3 separate regions of the Homo sapiens genome follow, and regions 1 and 2 are each linked to region 3. The links are contacts of gene promoters, found by promoter capture Hi-C in human tissues and cell types (Jung and others, 2019). All regions are on one chromosome and are shown on one strand. Each heading gives the region's core, a stretch centred on a gene start or on the middle of the fragment in contact. The rest is flanking DNA. Distances are from core to core; before and after follow the strand shown.

Evidence for each region. The method cuts DNA at HindIII sites, captures the fragments that hold promoters and counts their contacts. A contact is called where the count stands out against the background at its distance.
Region 1: a contact is called between a fragment that was not itself captured here and the fragment with the promoter of KLF15 in region 3, in 1 of the 25 tissues and cell types used here (pancreas).
Region 2: a fragment that was not itself captured here is called in contact with the fragment with the promoter of KLF15 in region 3 in 6 of the 25 tissues and cell types used here (H1 embryonic stem cells, heart left ventricle, liver and 3 more).

What each region holds. Positions count from the first base shown.
Region 1 is chr3:126,294,008-126,297,721 of GRCh38, forward strand. It overlaps a transcript of KLF15 not described here. Among named protein-coding and RNA genes, the nearest start is that of KLF15, 62 kb to the right of the region's middle. The HindIII fragment of the contact is 3,548 bases long and covers 13-3,560 here.
Region 2 is chr3:126,312,605-126,316,445 of GRCh38, forward strand. All of the region lies in intron 1 of LOC105374088 (a long non-coding RNA gene), which reads left to right. It also overlaps a transcript of KLF15 not described here. Among named protein-coding and RNA genes, the nearest start is that of KLF15, 43 kb to the right of the region's middle. The HindIII fragment of the contact is 7,168 bases long and covers 1-3,841 here.
Region 3 is chr3:126,355,352-126,358,771 of GRCh38, forward strand. KLF15 (KLF transcription factor 15) reads right to left here and starts at 2,057. Exons shown (of 3, transcript NM_014079.4): 1 at 1,886-2,057. RefSeq lists enhancers at 599-1,358, 1,359-2,118 and a silencer at 2,017-2,236. The HindIII fragment of the contact is 9,710 bases long and covers 1-3,420 here.

The DNA of each region.
Region 1 (3,714 bases), core at 537-3,036, 62 kb before region 3:
TTTCTCTGTCTCCTTTCTGTGTCAGGGCCGGCTTTTTAAGAGGATGGGTCTGTCGCTCTTGGACAGTCTCTCCGCCTAGGTCTGCCTGACGCCTTCTCTGCATTGGACTGAGGTAATGCCTTTTTGGAAATTCCGTGGCAATGCCACAGAAGTGATGTGCATTTTCGGTGGGCCAGATCAGTGGGTGTGGGCTGTTAGTGTGCCTTGTGCCTGGTCATGCCAACTTTGATCTCTTGGTTAGGGTGGTGCCTGCCAGGGTTCTCCCCCATCAACTCACTGTTTTTCCTTTGTAACCATTAAATATTCAAAGAGATGCTTTAAGGCTACACAGAGACACTGTTTGTGCTTAGATCTCTGTCTGCTAATTTTACTATCCTCTGGTGATGTTGCCTCAGCCGTGCTCCCTGCAGTCCTCTGGTGCTCATCGTCTTCGTCTCTCATTCGTTCCACATTTATTAATTGCGATTCATCTGTAAGAAAGCAGTTAACTCACTTTTAAACGTCAATAATTAAGCCATACACCAGTTGATAGCCTGTGGGGCAGGAGGAAGAGCAAGGCCTTCAGTCAGTCCAAAGGGTGGCTCGAGTAATTTTTTAACTGAGCACTTTTCTCTGCTTGCAGGCTGACCCTTGGTTGCATTTGGCCTCTCTAACTTTGCCCCATCTCTGCTGCTGAGGTCAGCAGCTCAAGAACGAGCCTTGCACAGGCTTTGGGGCCCTCTCCAGAGAAAATCGGGTTCCTTCTTTCCCTTCCAAGCATCTCTGCTCCCTTTGCCCTGCCGCTAGGAAGAAACCTCCCTGTCAGAGCCTCTCTACTTCTAAAGCCAAGTCTTTTGCCAGTGGCCCTGCCCCTCCATACACACACACACACACACACACACACACACACACACACACAGATACGTACACATACACACATGTGCATGTCCATGCATGCATAGATACACACAAACATGTATATATGTGCATATATACATACGTCTATGGATTCATATATACACATAATACACACATACACATGTGCACATATACATGCACATGCATGCACTTATACGCACATGCATATAGATACACATAGATGCACATGAGCATGCACACACATATGTACACACATGCATATACATACATATACACATACATATATGCTCATAAAGAACTACATACATATATAAATATATATTCCAATAACAGCTGTCAGATCATTGTTTTTAAAAAGCAAACAATCACAGAAGACACAAACAGCTTAGGCTCTTCTACAGCCTACTGGTCCTTACAACAACTTTAAGAGCAGATACAGTTACTATCCACTTTGGAAGATGAAGAACCTCCAGCTTCCTTGGCCCAAGCCTACACTTCTAGTGAGGGCAACGCTGGGAACTACATCCAGGCCTTTGCTCGAAGCCTGTCTCTGTACCCCCGTCACCATATGCTGCTCTAAGATTAGTTTCCCCGTTGGTTTGGTCAAAAGGCCCAAACCAACTCAGGATACAAAGTATGGCACTGAGGATACAAAGGCATCCACATTCGTATCCCGAGTGCCATGGCCAGATCAGTGCCTCCTCCCCTCCCCTGGCACCCTCCCCTCCACCCAGAGATGTGATCAGCTTCACATGGCTACCAACAAGTGAGACTGTCTGTCCCTTGACAAAGATTATATGCTTGGCCAAACTTTAGTCAGGCTTCTGAACCTTCCCCTTGACCCATCTGTGCACTTCCTTGCAAAATCCAGATTTAGCAAGAACAAAGCTAAGTCAGTTTGGCAAGAACTCCCTGTCCTTCATGTCTGATCAGATTCTTCACCCACCACCATCCCCCAGGTGATGTTGGTTATGCTGACCTGTCTTCAGCAAGAACACTGTTAGGTTGGATTAGCCAGGGACCCCCTAAACCCTGATGCTTCTTCTTAGTCATTTCCCATCCACTGACCCTAGTCTGGCTCCTGGTTGTAAATTCCGACTTGTCTGTGGTATATTCATAGTTGATGCTGATCTCTCTTCCCCACTGCACAGTCCCATTGCTGTTGTCCCTGTACGTATCACAATGGTCCTGAATAAAGCCTACCTTGCCATGCTTTAACAAGGTATTATTTAAATATTGCATAATATTTTCTTTAACATCCCACAGTGTCACTAATGCTGGGTGTTACTCATTGTTCATGTTTCTCAGCCTCAGGGGGGCTTGAAAAATCTTACTGTTATTTTTAATGTGTGCTAAATTTATATTTGGAGTCTCGCTCTATCGCCCAGGTGGAGTACAGTGGCGTGATCTCTGCTCACTACAAGCTCCACCTCCCAGGTTCACGCCATTCTCCTGCCTCAGCCTCCTGAGTAGCTGGGACTACAGGCGCCCACCACCATGCCCGGCTAATTTTTTGTATTTTTAATACAGACGGGGTTTCACCATGTTAGCCAGGATGGTCTTTATCTCCTGACCTCGTGATCCACCCGCCTTGGCCTCCCAAAGTGCTGGAATTACAGGCGTGAGCCACCACGCCAGACTGCAACATACATTCTTAATCTGCCAAGTTATATTTCTTAGCAATTTAGATGCCTTGTCTTTTCAAGAGAGGCCTGCAGCCTAGGGATTAGCACCTAGCATGTCTAGGGCTATGGCCTGAATCTGCAAGTCCAGCCGAGTGAATGTGGGAGTTTGGTTACATTCCCTAAGCTTCTGATTCCTTACCTCCAAAGTGTAGAAAACACAGTAACTACTTCAAAAGTTTGTTCTGAAGGGAATACAAATTAATTCATTAAGGCAGCTTCCATTCTCAAATAGGAAAAGTTGGCAGTTGTTATTGCTCATTATTTTGAGGGGATATTCATCTCCTTTCTTCTTAGTTTGTAAGAATTATGTATATACTTTAGGGTATTAACTTTGTGATACAAACATTTTTATTTTCTAGTTGATCATTTCTTTAGTAACTTTCTTTTTTTCGTTTGTTTTGTTTTTTAGATGCAGGGTCTTGTTATGTTGCCCAAGCTGGACTTGAACTCTGGGCTGAAGCAATCCTCCCACCTCAGCCTCCCAAGTAGCTAGGACAACAGGCATGTGTCACTGCGCCTTAGTAACTTTCTGTGTGGTGATTAATTCTAAACTTAATTTTTAAAATTTTGTTAGTTAAACCTTGAAATGTCTTCTTTTATAGTTTCTAGCTACAGTGTTATACTTGCCCTGTTTTATATTTGCTTAAAGAGTCACCTGTTTTTTTTTCTAGCACCATATTTTAACAGCCTTATTCATCTTTATGCTTAAGTAATGAATCTGGAACTTATTTTGATGTAAGATATCATGTAATGTATCTAACTTTTACTCCAAATGATAAGCCTGTTGACCTAACACTACTTTTTAATTAATTTATTATTGCCCCACTATTGTAAAATATTGCTTTCTATCATATACTAAATTTCATATAAATTTGAATCCATTTATGGTTTCACAATCCAGTATATTCTTTTTTTATTTCAGTCATTTTTGGGGAACAGGTGGTTTTTGGTTGCATGGATAAGTTCTTTAGTGGTGATTTCTGAGATTTTGGTGAACCCATCACCCAAACAGTGTGCACCGTACCCAGTATGTAGTCTTTTTTTCCTCACCCACCTCTCCCCACACGTCCCCAAAGTCCATCGTATTATTCTTATGCCTTCGCATCCTCATAGCTTAGCTCCCCCTTATAAGTGAGAACATATGATATTTGGTTTTCTTTTTCTGAGTTAC
Region 2 (3,841 bases), core at 106-2,605, 43 kb before region 3:
CACAAGAACCCTCCTGCTTCATCCATGCAGGGCACCAAATACTGTATCATCTCTCTAATTAAAATTTAAATTACAGCATCTGTGAGTTTTCCAGGGCTGCTGTAACAAAGTACGACAGCCTGAGGGCTTCAACAGACATTTGCGTTTTCACAGTTTTGGAGGCTGCAAGTCCTCGATCAAGGTGTGTGTAGACTGGCGGGTTCCCTTTAAGGCCCTGAAGGTCTGTCTGTCCTGGGCCCTCGCCTAGCTTCTGCTGGTGGTTGGAGCCCTTCAGCATTACTGACCTCCCGCTCATGTTCACGTGGCATTCTCCTTGTGCATGGCAGCTCCCAGCTCCCCTTTTATGAAGATCCTCATCACATAGAATTCAGGGATGTTATGGGCTGAGTTCTGTCTCCCAAAATTCATATATCTAAGTCCTAACCCCCAGAACCTCAGAATGGAACCAAATTTGGAATTAGGCCTTTAAACAGGCCATAAAGTGAAAATGAGGCCTTTAAAAGTAGCCCTTAATCCAACCTGACTGGGGTGCTTGTAAGAAGAGGGGGTTGGGACACACAAAGAGACCCCAGAGATGCAAGTGCACAGAGGAATGACAACATGGGGACACAGCGAAAAGGCGGCCAGCTGCACGGCAGAGAGAGACAGGCCGTGGGAGAATCCAACCCTGCTGACGCATTGACCTCCAACTTCCAGCCTCTGGAACTGTGGGGAAATGAACCTCTGTTGTTTAAGCCACTCATATGGGGCATTCTGTTACGCAGCCTCAGCTGACTCATACAAGGGCCCATCCTACTCCAGAATGACTCCAGGATGACCACATCCTAACTATTACATCTGCAGTGACCCTATCTTTAAATGAGGTCACATTTGGAGACACTGGTGATTTGGACTTTGAGATATAAATTTTGGGGGACATGATTCAACCTGTAACCTAGTGTTTCTGGGCCCTGGCCCTGGCATCCCCATCCCAAGCAATGTCTGGGAATACTGACTTGCCCTGGACTTCCTGCAGAGGGTCATTTTTCACACTTGTCATCCTCAGTCCCTGGCATGGCTCAACCCCACCTTCTCCTGCCCTCCCTACTGGTTCCACACACAGACCTGCCTTGTATGAGCTACTTATTGCTACTTACCAACTACCCAAAACTTAGGCTTAAAACAACCACCATCTTCTTTGCTCTCACTCCTGTGGTCTGACCATCTGGTCTGGGCTCAGCCATGGTCCTTACACTGGGGCACGTTGTGTGGCTAAAGTCATCTAGGGATGTCTTCAGCTGAGGCTTGAGCAGAACTCAGCAAACTGCAAACCCGTCTACCATCTGTTTGTGTAAATAAAGTTTTATTGGCACACAGCCAGGCTCATACAGTTATGTGTTGCCAGTGACTGCTTCATGCTGCAACAGCAGTTGATGAGGTGAGACAGAAACTGCATGTGGCCACACAAAGCCTAAAATATCTATTATCTTGCTCTTTATACAAAAGCTTGCTGAGCCCTGGTCTCAGGCTGTGTCACTCCCTCGCTCGGTGGCCAACGGTCACCCAGAGGGACTCATCCTCACAAGGCCTGCCCAGGATTCCTCATGGGGGCTGGGGTGCTCTCGGGGTTCCAATAGCTCACAAAATGTCAGTCCAAAATTCAAAGGGTGGGGATATGGGTCCCCCCTTGACAGGAGAGTCACAGCACATCACCAAGGACCACACATACAGGGGTGGGAGGAGCCATTGCCACCTTCCTTGCAAATGTCATTCATGTGTCTTCCTTTGAATGGGCCAAGCACAGCTAAGTCAAGGCCATGATGCTTGACAGAGCCTGACTGACCGCTTGGGGAAGCAGAGAATCAGAACACAGAGCAACCTCCCTATGGCCAGTTGTGTTCTTAGGGCTCAGGGCTCCCACACAGGGACCCACACGTGTTCCCAGGTTCCTCCCATCCAACCAGTAGCTCCTGCCTCCCACACCTCTGTGCCCCAGGCTCTTGCTACTAGAACTGAGGACTACACTTCCCACAGTGACCCCAGCAGGGCCCAGAGCCATTCACCCCACAGCTGCACACAGCACAGCTCAGCAAACGAATACTGGGCTCCACCTGGGGCAGAACAGAGGCGAAGTCCAGGGAGGGCTAGACATGAGGGCCCTCTATGCCCCCATATAGTAGTAATCCCCTCTGTCTGTCTATTGCATCAGCATCGTTCTCTCTGATCACAGAAAATTCCACTAATTTGGTAAAGAAAGACAGACAGCCAGGACCCCAAGGCCATCTTTTTATGGCTTGCTTTCCTTGAGAAAGATACAGACCTTGCATAGAGTTGGCTAGGGCTGCCAGAGCACTACACACTAGGGGCCGCAGATGTCTCTTGTCTCACAGTTCTGGGGGAAGGAAGTCCAGGATGAAACTGCGGCCAGGGATGTCTGCTTCTGAGATAGCGTCTGTTCCAAGTCCCCCTCCTGGCTCCTGCTATTTGCTGCCAATCTTTGGAGTTCCTTATCTTGTAGGCTGTCACCCTGATCTCCACCTTCATGACCACTTGGGGTTCCCCCATGTGTGTGTCTGTGTCCAAATGTCCCCTTTTTATAAGGACACCAGTCATATTGCATTAGAGAGACCCACCCTACTCCAGTGCAACCTCATCTTAAATAATTACATCTGCAACAACTCTAGCTCCGAACAAGTTCACATTCTGAAGTACTGGGAGTTAGGGCTGTAACTCCCAGTACAGTTAGAGTTAGAACATATCTCTTCTTGGTGGGGGCACTTTTCAACAGTAACGCACTGTGTCTTGGAAGCTAAGTGGTAGGATGGGCCCAGCCTGTGCTGCATGGTCCACCCCACTGTGCCCCAGATGGGGGAGGGGCGGGACCTAGGGCCACATCTTGTCAATATGGAGCAGGGAAGTTCCCAGACATTGGGATCCTGGGCTCCCTACACAAGAGTGAAGAGGGAAGTCAGGGGGGACAGGAGGAGAGCGGGAGGGGAGGGATAGAAGGCCGGCAGGCTCCGAGGGCCAGCACACACTCTCACAGCTCACAGCAACACTGCTGTCTCCGGCTGCATCTTAACAGAAAACTGAGGCTCAGAGAGACACATTTTGAGTGAGAGGCTGGGCCAGGACAGGAACTCAGGCCTGCATGACTCCAAATCACTTCAAGAAGGAGGTGGGCTTTCTACCTATCCTTTGAAATTCCTCTCCTGCACCTCCCTGGACTGTGCCACTTCTGAATAAAAAGCCATCATTTTATGAGGCAAAGAAAATGCTACGGTTCTGGGAAGGAAAATATTCTTATGTGGAAAAGAGGGGTCAAGGCTTGGGACCCTCTGACAACTAGGTCATGGCTGATTCCGACATAAGAGAAGGAGGTTTTTAAGATTCTAGAACAGGGGTTGGCAAGCCGCACTCTAGAGTCAAATCCCACTGCTGTCTGTCTCTGTGCAAGCTGGGAACTGTATTTGCATTTTTAAAGGGTTGTAAGAGACAAGAATTCAAACAAATAATTGCGGCAGAGACCACGTGTGGCCTGTAAAGCCTAAAACATTTACTATCCGGCCCTTCACAAGAAAAAGCCAGAGCAATATGGAAAGCGGGGCTGGGAGTGCACGGGCGGAGTGGGGAAGGGAGTCCACGGGCCGGACTGGGGCTGGGAGTGCACGGGTGGGAGTGGGGCTGGGAGTGCATGGGCCAGAATGGGGAAGGGAGTGCAAGGGCTGGAGTGGGGAAGAGAGTCCATAGTCCAGAGTGGGGAAGGGAGTGCACAGGCCGGAGTGGAGAAGGGAGTCCACCGGCTGGAGCAGCGCTGGGCATCCATGGGCCAGTGGGGAAGGGAGTGCATGGGCCTGAGTGG
Region 3 (3,420 bases), core at 807-3,306:
GCACCTGGGCCCTTGGGACTCTCTGCAGACCTCACCACCAACTGCCTCTCTTCTAGTCCAGGTGTGCTCACTTCACTTCAGCCTCAGCCCGGGGCCACTGCCCTGGCTCTTCCCCCAGCACTGCAGGTGGGAGCTGCTTAGTTAGATCTCGGCTCAGAAGTCACCCCTGTGGGGGCCTCCAGGCCCACTCTGTTACATCATCCTATATTATACTCTTCCCTGCAGTTTCTACTGTGGGAAACTATCTTGGTGATGTGTTTGTGAACTTTCCTCCCTGTCTACCTTCCCATCAGAATATCAGCTGTCCTGACTGTTCACTCCAAGGCCATATCCCAGAGTCTAAAACAGGACCGGGCAAAATTTGCTGAATGAGTGAATGGAAGGTGCGGGGGAGAGCGGGGGAGGTCGGAGAGTAGGAATGGGTGGCCCAGGTCAGCCAACAGGGTCTTAATGCTGGGCTGAACGTCCCAAGGGGGAAGCACCCAGGCACTGACAACCCAGAAAGGGCTCTGGGATGTCCCAGGGCACCGGCATTAAAGAGAGGACACTCTAGGGCTGGAGCTGGCTCGGCCCCTGAAACACAGCAGCACGTGGGGCGGCCAGAGGCGCAGGCTGCGTGCAGGGGGAGGGGACACGCTGTTCCGGGCACAGTCCCCGGCTGGCCGCCGGACTCCGCCCCCTCCCCTGGCCCGGCCAGGCCTGCTGTTTATCCTCCCGGGGACACAGCGGCTGCAGGAACAACATGTAATTGATAACAAGCCCAGCGCCGGCCAAGGGCTTGCCATTGGGTCAGCGTGCAAATCACGGGGGTGGCGGCGGGGGCTGTCCTTCAAAATAAGAGTCTCCGGTCCCTGAGCCGCCCGCAGGCCCCAAAGTCGCAGAGTCCGGGCGTCCTCACACCTGTAGGGCGGCAGGGTCTCCCCAGGGGCCACCTGGTCCGGGGGGACAGGGGGAAGGAGATTTGAGGCTCTCAAACAATTGTTGATTTTGTCACCTCCGAGGGCCGTGGGAGAAAACAGCCCCTCTGTGCCCTCCGTGAGAGGGGGGTTCCATGAGTAACACCAAGGCGGGGAGGGAAGAGTGAACCGGACCACCATATGGGATGGGGACGGCCTCTCTGCCCCGCCGCCGCCATCCCTCGGTCAGGCCATGGCTTTGGTAATGTTCGGTCTGAGCGGACGGGGACTCAGCGTGGAGTGAGACGCGTGAACGGTGCGGGTGTGCGTGAAGGGGTGTGAGTTCCTGTCGTGTGACTGCGTGTGCGGGGCGTGGTGCGCGGCAGCCGCTGTGGCTGTGCGGGAGGCTGTCCGCGAAGGACTCGCGCGTGGAGCCGCCGTGGGTGCCGGCGGGTGAGGGGAAACGTGCGTGGGAAATGAAGAGAGCCGGCTCAGACCCCTTCTAGAGTCCTGGACCGCTGCCCGCTGGGCACCATGCCCTCGTCCCACGCCCCCCCCTTGCCCCCGACACTGCTGCGGTGACCGACAGTAACCCCTCCGTCTCCAGCCCCTCCGCCCCCCAACCCCGGGCTGGCCAGCGCGTCCGCTCTCCCCCTCCTCTCACCAGGCCGCGCCGGTGCCCACCATATGGGAGGGCCGGCCCGCAAGGCGCGCCACGGAATCGCCCGGCCAGGCACCGAGGCGGCGGCGCGGGCCTCAGCAAAGTGCTGGTGGGCGACCGGGGCGGGGGGGGTCACCTCCCCCGGGCCAGTCCGACCCCTGCCCACCTCCGCGGGGGCCCATCCCGCTCCTCCGACATTCCTCCAGCACTCGCGCGGTGCCTCCGAGAGCTGCGCGGGAGCACGGCCACGCGCCCCGAGGCCGGCCAGCCCTCTGATCACCCGGGGCCGCGTCCACGCGGCCGGCCGGCCCCGCCGCGCCTCTCCCACCTGAACTTGGCGCACGCCGGACCGGCGGCCAGGCCCCGGCGGTCCTGCGGCCGGGCGGGCTGGGCTGGGGGCGGCGGCTAGACTCTCGGTCCGGCGGCGGCCGGGGGCCGAGCCGCGGGTCCTGCGCTGGCTCGATCGCCCGCCGGCCCGCGGGTCGCTGCGGCGGAGCACTAGCCCGCCCGCAGCTCGCTGGGCACTCACTCCCCGCCGCTCACGTGACGCAGCGGGCGCCGCGAAGGCTCGCAGGAGGCTCGGCCCCGGGCGCGCGCCCCATTGGCCCGCGCTGCGCGTCACACGTCCCGCCCCGCCCTGGCCCCGCCCTGGCCCCGCCCCGGCCCGCCCGCGCGGCTCCCGGACTTGAGCGGCGGATGCTCGGGGATCCCGGAGCTGCCAGACGCGCACGCCCCCCAACACGCTGCCTGGTCCCTGGCCCGCAGCCACCTCCTTGCTTCCCACCTCTCGCCGCTGTCTCGCGGCGTCCACGAGGGCCGGCTTCTAAAGCTCGGTTCCCAAGGTGAGAACGTGAGACTGGCCTGAAGACTTAAGAAAAGCTCTGAGATCGCCCCAAAGTGCAGTCTGCGTGATTGAGCGGGAAGCGCTGGGGAGCCTGTCTGGCCCGGTCTGGCCCACGTCCCCACCTTCATCCCCAGCGCGGTACAAGCAGCTCTGTCCCCCGCTGAGTGTCAGATAAATCACTTGCCTAGAAGGACGTATTTTTGGATAAATACGGTATTGGGCTTTCAGCAGGACAATCAGTTACCCTCCGGAAATTGCGCGCGCTCTGCGCTGCCACCCTGCCCTCCAGGACTAAGGAGGTTTGCTGACCGGCCCCCCCCCCCCCCACCTGAAACCAATGACACCTTGTCTCTGGGGCACCTTTCTGAAGACCAAACAATGCTTCGCAGTCTACAAAAGCGTTCGTAGACTGCTTTAGTCCGCAGCAATCCTGGCTCGCATTTGGGTTCCCGCTTAGAGACAGGAAGAGTAAGGCTCAGAGTGGCTTGCCCAAGAAAAACACGTGGGCTGACGGTGCTAGGCACCCTGCTGTGCCCTTTAATCCACACTCCAGCTGGATCCTCAGCCAAGCACTTTACAGATGAAGAAACCGACTCAGAGAGGGCACCAGCCCTCCCCAGCCCCACAGCTGGGAAGGAGCAGGTAGAGAGGTAGAGCCAGGTCATCTTGCAGACACCCCCAGGCCACCTGTGCAGAGCTGTCCTACTGAGCTTCCTTCCTCTCCCCTCCTGGCACTGGGAGGTGGGGAGCATTTTCTCCTGCTTCTTCTTGAAGACATTGCTAGAACAGGAATTTTTAACCATACCCTTTCCAGGCTCTCTGGAATGCTATAGGTCTAGGCTTGCTTGACCAGGGATCTGGGGACACTGTGCACCAGGTCAGTGCCAGGGATTCAGCTGCTGCTGCCACTAGGAGCCAAACCAATGCGTTGCCAGAGGGCTTTAAGGACATTTGTGTTGAGGATGGTGAGAGGCTTTCTAGTTCACAGAAGTTGGAATGACCACTCTGGCATTACAGCA